Linked DNA regions of Homo sapiens: region 2 is linked to region 1. The links are contacts of gene promoters, found by promoter capture Hi-C in blood cells and fetal thymus (Javierre and others, 2016). All regions are on one chromosome and are shown on one strand. The core of a region is centred on a gene start or on the middle of the fragment in contact, and the rest is flanking DNA. Distances in the headings are between cores, read along the strand shown. Region 1 holds the start of FUT4 (fucosyltransferase 4). Region 2 holds the start of SLC36A4 (solute carrier family 36 member 4).

Region 1 (5,747 bases), core at 521-3,020:
CTTGGGCCGGTCCCCAGCCCTCTGTACAGCCTGGCACACCCGGCACCAAGGCTCGTCCCAGAAGGAGGTGATGTGGACAGCGTAGCTCCGGCGCCAGTGGAAGTAGCGGCGATAGACCGCGGGGTTGCGGTCGAGGAAAAGCAGGTACGAGGCCAGGGAGGAGGCACTTGGGAAGTCGTCCACGTGGATGAAGGCGCCGCGGGGCACAAAGCGCTCGTAGTTGGCACGGTCTGGGCCCAGCACCACCGGCACCGCCCCAGCGAGCAACGCGTTGCGCCAGAGCTTCTCGGTGATATAATCCAGGTGCTGCGAGTTCTCGAAAGCCAGGTAGAACTTGTAGCGGGCCACTGTGTGCAGGAGCCCAATTTCGGGCACCGGCTGCCCCGGCCCGCCCCGGCCGAACACGTCCACGGTCACATGTTGGCTCAGTTGGTGGTAGTAGCGGACCCGGGCCTGGCGCTCGTCCCAGTGGCTCACCACCCATGCCACCAGCCCCTGTTTCCTGGACAGTGGCGGGGCCAGGCCTGAGGGCGGGTCGCCGGGGTGGCTTCTGGGGTAGAGGTAGCCATAAGGCACAAAGACGTCCGAGTCCGCCCGGTAGGAGAGCGTCCAGTTGAAGAGGTTACTTGCCAGGCTTCGCAGCCCCGGGGAGTGCGAGGGCGACTCGAAGTTCATCCAAACCCAGCGCTGGCCCGGGGGCCTGGGGCTGGAGGTCGCCAGGGCTTCTGCCGCCGCCGCTGCCTCCTCGTAGTCCAACACGCGCAGATCCACCTCCTCGGCAGTGTGCGCCTGGATGCCCCAGGGCGGGGGCCAGTCGGGGGGCCCCTTCACGAGGTCGCGGTGGTGGAAAAGCACGGCCTGAGCCTCTCCGTAGGACGCGCGGTCGGTGAGCAGGCGGCAGCCGCTGATGTTGAAGCGCAGCCGGCAGTCAGGGGGCGGCCTCGGGGCGCTATCGCGCCCCCCGAAGGGCTCCCACCACAGCAGCACGCCCACCGGTCGCGACGGGGTTGGCGACGCCCAGGGCAGCGGCGGCAGCTGCCCCCAGCAAGCGTAGGTGATCAGCGCCGTACACGTCAAGCCGGCGGCCGCCAGCACACAGACGGTCCATGGCAGCCCCCGGCCTCGGCGCCACCCGCGCCGCCCGCCCGCCGCCGCCGTCGGCGAGCCCCACGGTGCCCCCATGGCGCGAACAGGCAGCGCTGCCTCCGCTCGCCACGCGTCCGCAGGCGTGGAGGAGCGGCACCGGCTCTCATGCTGTAGCTGCGGCTCCAGCCGTCGCTGCCGCTCGCCGCTGGCCCGGGAATGGAAGGGGGCGGTCCCAGAATGCAAAGGCCGCGGGCCCTGCCCTGCTCCTCCCAAGTGCCGGGCGGGGCGAGCCGCCAGGGCAAGGTGAGCTGGCCAGGACGCCCAACCGGGCACCGCCCGTCCCTTTCTTCCACTGCGCCCGGGGCCCAGCCGGCCCGACCAGGCCCCGGGAGCCTCCTGCGGCGCCTCCGCCCACTCCTTCTCCCAGCCCGCGCCCGAGGGCTTCCGGGCCGCGCCCCACAAGCGCCTCATCCGCTACTCTTGATTCTCTCTCAACTGATCCGGTTTCCCTCTGCGCGCGCCCACCGCCCTGGCCCTCGCTCACTGTGGCCCGAACCCTCGCCTTCCAGAGGGAAGGCCCGGTTCATCCCTGGGAAGGTACAGGAGGCTCGAGACCTTCTAAAGCAGCTGCCGCGCAGGAGCAGGCCCTAGAACAGACGGAAGGCGGACCCGGCGCCGCGGAACGGAGGATAGCGTCGGCTTCCTGCCGTTGGGCCTAGCCACCCGCCAGCGACGCCCGCCGGAGGGAGGGATTGAGGGAGGGAGGGAGTCCAGAGGCCGGGGGAACGTGCGAGCAGAGGCGCGGCCACCGCATCCGTGGCCAGGATCTCGTGGCCCGCCGAGACGGTCGAATTGTGGAGGCAGCCCGCAGCGGCGTGGCCTTCAGAGTCTCTGCATTTGGTGAAGAACTTAAGTTTTCAATGTGAGTGCTCATAAGAACATTTCCTTTGCCTGCCAGCCCAGTAAAGGATAGAGAACAAAATGTTTTCTTAGCAATCAAAACATGTTCTTTCCTTTGGTCCCCTACCAAATAAGTCTGACTTGCCGGCTCATAGTAGTATTGCTTGTACCAAGACGCACAGGACTCATAAACCAAAGATGAAGATGTGACCCCCCCAAGGCCCTTGTCGTCAAGGAATTTATTGCCTGTTCAGTGAGATGAATGAATGAATATCACTATTAATTTTACCAAGCACTTAAAAAACATTTTCTGCACCCATGAAAGTTATGCAAAATAGTTTGGATGATAAAATGATGACGAAGATAAATATTCTAGCACCCAAGTTAAGGGTGTAAAGACAGTATCGCACTGGCCTCTTCTACCTTATTAGGCGACACTGGAGACATCTACGTCTACAGTCACTTGAGAAATTTTTTACCTACGGGTTGAATTTGAATTTCTGGGTGTTCGCTTTGGTTTATGATATTCAACTTTTATTCAGGGGATTTCCAAATAGATCAGGGGCGGGGCTGCTGACCTAAGGAGAGGAGAAAGTTTTGAGAGAAGTTTTAGTAGATCACAGCTGTGCATCAGTGGAGTCCCACTGATACTAGGGGAGAAATAGACAGTGCTGGGAATGGGGCAATCCTGCCAGGTGTTTTTGATGTTATGCCTACAGAAAATAAATTTGCGTTAGCCATATGAATTTAAGAATGTTTTCATTAAAAATCAAGTATAGGCCAGGCGCGGTGGCTCACGCCTATACTCCCAGCACTTTGGGAGGCCGAGGCGGGCGGATCCCGAGGTCAGGAGATCGAGACCATCCTGGCTAACACGGTGAAACTCTGTCTCCACTAAAAATAAAAAAAAATTAGCCAGGCTTGGTGGCGGGCGCCTGTAGTCCCAGCTACTCGGGAAGCTGAGGCAGGAGAATGGCGTCAACCCAGGAGGCGGAGCTTGCAGTGAGCCCAGATCGCGCCACTGCACTCCAGCCTGGGCGACAAAGCGAGACTCCGTCTCGGAAAAAAAAAAAAAAAAATCAAGCATTGTGTGTAAAAGCTTCTATAAAAGTGGCTTCCGGGTGGCGCTCTCTGCAGGGCCACAGCCTCAGTTTGGAGACTAGATGGAGGATGTTAGGTGTTCTGGCTAGGCCCATCAACCTAGTAACATTTCCTCCTGCACAGTAAAACCTTTCATAATGCTTCTGGGGTTTTTTGTTTGTTTGAAAAACAGAAATTAGAAATCAAATATTTTATTTGAAATTAGACATTTCAGTGACTTTTTTCCACTCTTACTTTTAATTAAAAGAAAAAGCTATAAATGCACAAATTACTTGTTTAAACGAAATAAAGGAAAAAGTGTATTGGCTTCTCTTTTTATGCAATTCAAGAATCCAGCCATTTATTCACATTCTTCTCCCTCTTCAGTTAAATAAGACATCACAGATAGAGCCTAACATTGTGTCTGGCACGTGGCCGGTAGGCATTTGGGAAATATTACCCTGCTTGATTGCTTCCTTCCACCACTCCCGATTTTCTCTTAAGCCTCCGAATGTTCCAATTAAGCCATCTTTTTACCTGAAGAATGCCCGAGGTCTCATGCATATCAATTTTCTTTGTGCCCTCTTACCTCGGTAGGGTTGAGACCACAAACTGCCCCTACTATACCCTTATTTGATGTGGGAGGAGGGGATACTAGGTAGTAAGGTGTGTCTGGATGAATGGAAACCAGTCGTGACTTCGCAAATTGCTGGTTGAAGGTCATACGTGATCATTGTGCATCTCATACATGCACAAACATTCACAGGGGACTGGATTGTTCTTATTTTAAAAGAGCCATTGGTAGGGTAGAGGAGAAGGAAAGGGAGGAAAGGAGTTATGGGAAATTAATAAATTTACTCACTTGTTCATTTAACAAATTGGGAAACAAATGCAAAACACGGTTTCTACCTTCAAAAATCTACGAGAGAAACAGATAGTGGGGAGGGAAGGGATCATGGAAGGCTTTGAGGAGGTGGCTCCTGGAATAATTAGGAATCATTACAATGCAGAGGAAGAGGGCTGAGGTGTTAGTTGCCACAGAGGGAGCAGCACTGCAGAGGCCAGGGAGGGAAGACTGGGGCAGTAGGCGAGGAATTACTAGGGTATAGTTTGGCGAAGGAGATGGTGTTTATCCTGCAGGCTGTCGAGAAAGTCCTTGGAAGGCTTTAACAAAGGAAGGAAGCGATATTCATTTTTAAAATGAATTCTTATTTTTATTACGTATAAGGAGGGTGAGTATATGGATGGGGACACGGGGGGGCTGCGGAATGCTGACTGTTAATGTAGGCTCTGGTTAATGGGTGTGTTTGGTTATGGAAGTTCATCAAACTGTATGCTTACATATGTACTTTTATGGGTGGACATTATACTTTAGAAAAAAGTTTCTAAGAAAAAATCATTCTGTCATTAGTAAAGAGTGAGTTGGGTAAAAATAGGGTAAGAGTAGGGGTGTGGTGGTGTGCAGTTGGAAAGTTATTGCTGTAATTCAGATGTGAAATAAAGAGGGCCTGAACTGAGACAGTAGCTGTGAGGATGAGGAAGAAAATTAAAGGAGGATAGATTCAGAGAGATTTAGGAGGCTGGTTTCTTTCTCTGGGAAGCCTTTCTGGATACCCACAAACATATATCCAGGGTAGTTTACATGGCCCTCCTGTGCACTCTCACACATGCTGCACCTTTCAGAACATCATGGGACATCCAGAGATCATGACTGTTTCATTCATAATTCCATCCTGAACACCCACCACGGAACCAGGTTTCTAGTAGTGAATATTTGTTGAATGAATGTATGCCCTTAATGTATCACCGAAATTATCTGTTGGTATCTCTTTCCCCACTACAAAATGAGAAGACATCCGGAGATCTTGGCTATGTGAATGACTTGCTATGACCTTGAAATGTCCCTTAAGCTTTCAGTGGAAAATATTGTACATGTATTAAGCATAGTCCTGGCAACAGGCATCAGAAATGATATCAAATTAGACTGCTGTCATTGGCCAAACCTGGGATGAGTGCTCATTCTTGAAGCAATCACTGTGGTCAGGGAATGGGTACTCTCTTTAGACCCTCCTCTGGAGCTAGAATCAGTCCCATCTGAATAACAGATGTGGAATAATCTGTTATTCTTGAATAACAGTGCGGGGAGAGAAGTTACCCAAAAGAAAAAATGAGGTGGTGTTACCTGAAAAAGAGGGAAAGGATGCTAGGTGGGCAAAAACATGTCTGCTACCCATGTGGAAGGAGATATTACTATTCTTACAATGAAGAGGCTGGACTAAATGAACTCTGAATCATCTTAGATTTCGAACATGGAAGAATAGTCCATGATTCTTTTACATTTGGTAACAAATGATTCTTTGTGCATTTAAAGGCCTCTCAGTTTCCACAAAATATTGCACAGAAAGAACTAGCTTTCAGTTGCCAGCATGAAGATGAGATGGGCATGGAGAAGGGTCTTTGGACCCTGAGGGTTGCAAAAGTAGTGTAGAAGAGAGCTCCATAATTCAAGACTTAATTTATGACACTGAATGAGCAATGAACTCACAACATGCCAAAAGTGACCTATTCGGTTCCAAAATTTTATATTGGACAGAATTCTTTGGGAGCAAGAACCAGGCCAACTGTGGTTCCTAAAATTCGAACTCATTCCTTATTCTTTCTCAAGGATATAGTTCATTTGA
Region 2 (5,294 bases), core at 438-2,937, 1.3 Mb after region 1:
ACAGCTGTACTTTATATCTGCTTCTAATTTATAAGACCTGGAGTAGAAGTCCTAGTAAATATGTTCTCAAGTAGAGATGCATGAAAAACATATTTCTCTTGAATCTTATGATCATTGTTATCACTTGCTTTATCTCCACATCACTGTAAAGACATTGGGCCTCCTACCTCAGCCCAACCCTCTTCAAAAGATTTCAGGCCTATACTACAAGTCAAACTTTTCTTCCTTCCATATTGCCAGATCTGCTTTCCCTGAAGCTGAGATTAGGGGACAATGACTTTTGATCCCTTTTAACTCTCAAAGGATAATGTTCTTTTAAGATGCTGTCCCACATGTTCTCATTATAATGAGTGGTTTATGGAAAATTACCTTGGTCCTATAATTTCTGTCTGATGCCTATCTTCTCTCCTGCTGATCTTTAACCAGGTGATCCACCCCAACACAGGTTAGGGAACATTGCTCTAGCTATGTTCCAGAATAGATTTCTTCTTCTTCTTCTTTTTTAAAAAAAATCTCCTTTACCCCTTTATTTGTCAGGAACACTTCAAATAAAACCTTCTTTTGGGATTTGCATGTGTATGTATGTGAACAAATTGGGTTCACTTAAAGGAAAAGAAAGGGGGTTGGCAAACTGTCATTATCACTAGTTATCTAGTGAAAGCCTACAGAGGATGCAACAGGAGGAAAGATGTAGATAGTATGTAACTGCGTACCTTTTTAATCTCAGAATTTTAAATATTTAACACCATTGCCATATAGTTACATCAGTGACTGTTAATCAGACCCACTCCCCCCCAAAAAAACCCTTTCCTAAAGCAACCCCACTGAATGAAACGGACACAAATAAAAAGGATTGTCTGGTGTACTGACTTCCAAGAACTATGAAGTGAAAAAAAAAAGAAAGCGATTTTAAAATTAAAATAAATATTTTCCTTTTAAACCAAAAGCTTGCTTCATCCATTGATTCATCGAATATTCATTGGTACCCATCTGGGAGGCCAGCTTTGCATATTTTTCGAGAGCTCCAGCTCTGAAGGCAGAAGGATTCTACTTCTGCCATGTACAAGCTTCCTGTCCCCAGACACGTTACTTACCTCCGTGCCTTAATCCCTTCATCTTTAGCGTTAATGTAAATATTAGAATTATCTCACAAATTGTAGTCAGAATTAAAGATAATGTATGTATGGTGCTTAGGAGTACTTGAAACTACATCAGTACACTTAGTCTTTACCTTAATTTTCTTTCAGCACCACGGTCAACGTCAAATATCTGGAAGGACATTGAAATATCCTGAAAGTGAAATTGTATATGACTTAATTAAATTCTATTTAAGTGTCTCCTGTAACTCTAACTATAGAAACAGGGAGACGAATAACCAGAGTAGTCAGAACCTCAGCATGGGTAGGGGACAAATCCCGTCCTTCTTCGCATTCTCCAAGGTGACTTACAGAACGCTAACGCCTTGCATACGGACAGGCGCCCCAAATTTAAGTTCGCCGTCATCTTTAAAACCCCCAGGGAGCTATGGGCCCGGGTCTCGGCTAGCTCTAAGGTCCCACCCTCGCTGATCTCAGGTTACCCAACCCTCCTCTCGGGTTACCCAACCCGGCCTCGCAGCAGTCCTCGGGTCTTCGGCCCCTCCCGCCCCTCGCCGGCGGTGCCCGCCGAGCCGGGCTGTCCCACTGCGCATGCTCCTCGCCGCGCGGTTGGGGAGCGCCGGGGCAGGGAGGCGGGCACCAGGCGCGGGTCCCTCCGGGCAGGGGAGGTAGGCCTGGGCCTGACGCCGGCCACGCAGCGGCGGGAGAGTGAGCACTCGGGCGGCGGCGTCCTGGAGACCCGCGAGAGATGGAAGCGGCGGCGACGCCGGCGGCTGCCGGGGCGGCGAGGCGCGAGGAGCTAGGTCGGTGTTGTGCGTGGGCAGGGAGCCGGGGCTGACGTGGGCGGGGGTCTGTGCGGGAGTCGGGTGCGCCCACACCTCCAGGGGCCCCGCGCTTGGCCTGAGTTGAGGCCCGATTGCTAACTGACCCCGTGGTCAGCATCCGCAAAGGAACCGGTTATCTGACCCCGAGAACTTGGTCAGACGAAGCCCAGGCCTGAATAGGGCGTTAAAATATGTGTGTGTGTGTTTGCGCGCGCGCGTGTGGGTGAGTGTGTGTGTTGAGTGGGGCGGGGCCCTGTGGGTACACGTCAAAGACGCAAGAGCCTGCGCCGTGACTCACGGTTTTTTTCCCAATGATGCTTTAAGGAAGTTATCATTGTTCTGCTTTTCAAATGCTGCAGCCCCATTCGGAATCTCCAGATGAATCCTCATTTTACTCCTTGTTATCCCAGAGTTTCGAACAGGTCGTGCTGACCAGAATGAACAGGAGATACCTGTAGCTTGCTCACTTGGCAAAGTTTGTTTGTTTTTTGCTGCTTTCCTCCCATCTTGTTTCTTGGCGACAGGGCGTGTTTGTTTACGGTTTCCCGCTGTCCAAAATAAAAAAGTAAGGATCAGGGTGGTAAAATGATCGCTCTCCCAGTTATACGTACTGTACTTGGGAGTATTTTTCATTCGATGCTGATTAAATGTAATTAAAAAATTAAATCTAAATGGAATCTTCAAGAAAACCGTTGAACTTTAAAAAATACCGTATTATAAGTAACTGATAGGTTGTTGTTATTCCTCTAATAGCCTGCAGGGCACTTTGCAATGGAATTGTTTTCAGGCCGTAATAATGGTAGAAACAATAAACTTAACATTTTATTGCGTGCTTACTGTGTGCAAACACTGTGCTAAGTGCTTTACCTATGCATTGTCTTTAATCCTCACAGCAACTGAGATAGGTGCTATCATGATTTCCATTTTATAGATACAGTAATTTTAAGCTTATTAATGGCAGAACCCAAATGTGAACTCAGGTTTCATTCATTAATAACCTGTCTTAGTGAGGATATGGAGAAATGGGTATTCTCATGCATTGCTGGCAGGAAAGGGATAATATATTTAGCCTTAAAAATGTACATATCGGCCTGGCGCGGTGGCTCACGCCTGTAATCCCAGCACTTTGGGAGGCTGAGGCGGCCGGATCATCACAAGGTCAGGAGATGGAGACCATCCTGGCTAACACGGTGAAACCCCGTCTCTACTAAAAACACAAAAAATTAGCCGGGCGTGGTGGCGGGCGCCTGTAGTCCCAGCTACTCGGGTGGCTGAGGCAGGAGAATGGCGTGAACCCGGGAGGCGGAGCTTGCCGTGAGCCGAGATCGTGCCACTGCACTCCAGCCTGGGCAACAGAGCGAGACTCTGTCTCAAAAAAAAAAAGTGCTTATCGTTTGACCCAGCAATTCTCCTTCAGAATATTTCCCGAGGAAATAAGTAATGTAACCCATACTTATATCAAGAGGTTTTCATTATAGTATATAGAGAAAAGCTGTTAACTAAAGTACAATGAAAGGAAATTGGTTAAATTGTGGTATAGTTTTACATTGCCTACCATTAAAAGTGATGTGGAAAGATGTTCAGCATGTACATTTTCTTTAACTGAAAAAAAGTTTCAAATTATTTCAGTTTTTTTAAGTTTTATATTTTCATTAATTCAACACATATTCATTGAGCTTCCCCTAGGCACTTGAGATACATCGTGAGCAAAACAGATAAAAATTCCTGTTCTTAATGGAGCTTGTATTTAGTAATGGGAAGCAGAGAGTAAGCAGTAAAGACAATAACCAGTTAATTATATAGTATGTTAGGTGAAAAGTGCTATGGAAAACAAGAGCAGGGTAAGGGAAATCAGGAATGAGGGTGGGGGCTAGGCAGTTTACAGTATTTTATAAAATGGTTGGGATGGGCCTTATTGAAAAGGTACAATTTGAGTAAAGACCTGGAAGAGGTAAGGAAATTAGCCAAATGGATATCTGGGGAACGACTACTCCAGGCAGAAAGAATAACTAAAGGAATAGCAAGGAGGACAAAGTGGCTGAAGCAGAGTGATGGAGGTGGCGATGGGGCCAAATTATGTAGGGTCTTGTAGGTAATGTAAACTGTGACTTTTACCCTGAGGGAAGGGGAGAACAATGCAGGGTTTGAACAGAGGAGTGTCATGATCTGCCTTGTTTTAAAAGGATTGCATTGACTGCCATGTGACGAATAAACTGTAAGGGGGCAAAAGTAAAAGCAGAAGAATATTTCAGTAATTCAGGAAAGATATGGGTGTCCTTCAGAGCAGTATGGTAGTGGCAGTGGAGGTGAATAGACATAGTTAGTCTCTAGGTATATTTTGAAAGAACCAGTGTGATTTCCTGACAGAATGGGTGAGGGTTAGAGAGTAAAACGGAGGAGACATGGAAGACTCCAGGGACCTGAGTATCTAGAAGAATGAAATTGTTATTAACTGGGATATTATGGTGGTTTTGTAATATACCTACAGAGTCTTTGATGTTTTTCTCTTAAGTAGGAGAAACTTAATTTCCTTCTCTTCAAGTGGGGGCTGGACTTAGTAACTTGTGTCTAATGAATAGATTATGGTAGAAGTGATGATGTATGACTTCAATACTAGATAATAAAGTGCATTGTGCCTTCCTCCTTGCCTTCTCTTTTTGAATCACTCACTTGAAGGGAAGCCAGCTGTCATGTTGTGAGGAGACTCAAGCAGCCCTAAGGAAAGCTCCATGTTGCACAAAACTGAGGGCTCCGGACAATAGCCATAAATTGTTATACAGCAATAGATAACTAATACAAATGGGTAAAGTTGCAGGAATAGCAGGCTTGCTGGTGAAGACCAGTTCAGTTTGGGGCATGTTAAGTTTGAGATGTCCATTAGATATCAAAGTGCACATGTCAAGTAGGCAATTGGATTTTATGTCTAGCATTAGTGAAAGGTCTGGTCTGGAAATGTAAATTTGGATGTTATCAGCATATAGATAGTATTTAAAGCTAGGAGACAGAATGAGAACATAATGAGAGTTGTTTGTGTGTATGTGTGTGTGCCTGTGAACATGTACTCTAAAATGTTAACAGTAGTAATTTGTGGGTAATGAAGTAATTTTTAATTTCAAAAATGTTTATATATTTTCTGATTTTCTACAATGACCAAGTGTTATTTAATTTAAAAAAAGAATTTCCAAAAATGGGTATTTATGTAAAAAGCACTGGTAGAGATGTTAAGATACAGGTTCTCGTAAGGTATGTAAATAGCTTAAGGTCTGCACTTTATTTCATATCCCATAGGGACCTCTGGAAAGTTTCTTGCTGTGTATATTTCTTCCACCTCAGAAATGAACAAAATAGTAATGGTTCTTATTTTATATCTAGA

Evidence for each region. The method cuts DNA at HindIII sites, captures the fragments that hold promoters and counts their contacts. A CHiCAGO score of 5 or more calls a contact.
Region 2: a contact is called between the fragment with the promoter of SLC36A4 here and the fragment with the promoter of FUT4 in region 1, in 5 of 17 cell types (activated CD4 T cells, total B cells, neutrophils and 2 more). The highest score is 9.0, in activated CD4 T cells.

The regions. Positions count from the first base shown.
Region 1 is chr11:94,539,944-94,545,690 of GRCh38, reverse strand. It overlaps FUT4 (fucosyltransferase 4), which reads right to left and starts at 1,770. Exons shown (of 1, transcript NM_002033.4): 1 at 1-1,770. The coding sequence starts at 1,557. It overlaps PIWIL4-AS1 (PIWIL4 antisense RNA 1), which reads left to right. Exons shown (of 5, transcript NR_135093.1): 5 at 1-359. RefSeq lists an enhancer at 1-193 and a silencer at 1,013-1,582. The HindIII fragment of the contact is 5,462 bases long and covers 1-3,087 here.
Region 2 is chr11:93,194,384-93,199,677 of GRCh38, reverse strand. SLC36A4 (solute carrier family 36 member 4) reads left to right here and starts at 1,687. Exons shown (of 11, transcript NM_152313.4): 1 at 1,687-1,900. The coding sequence starts at 1,846. RefSeq lists a silencer at 1,546-1,925. The HindIII fragment of the contact is 1,801 bases long and covers 1,070-2,870 here.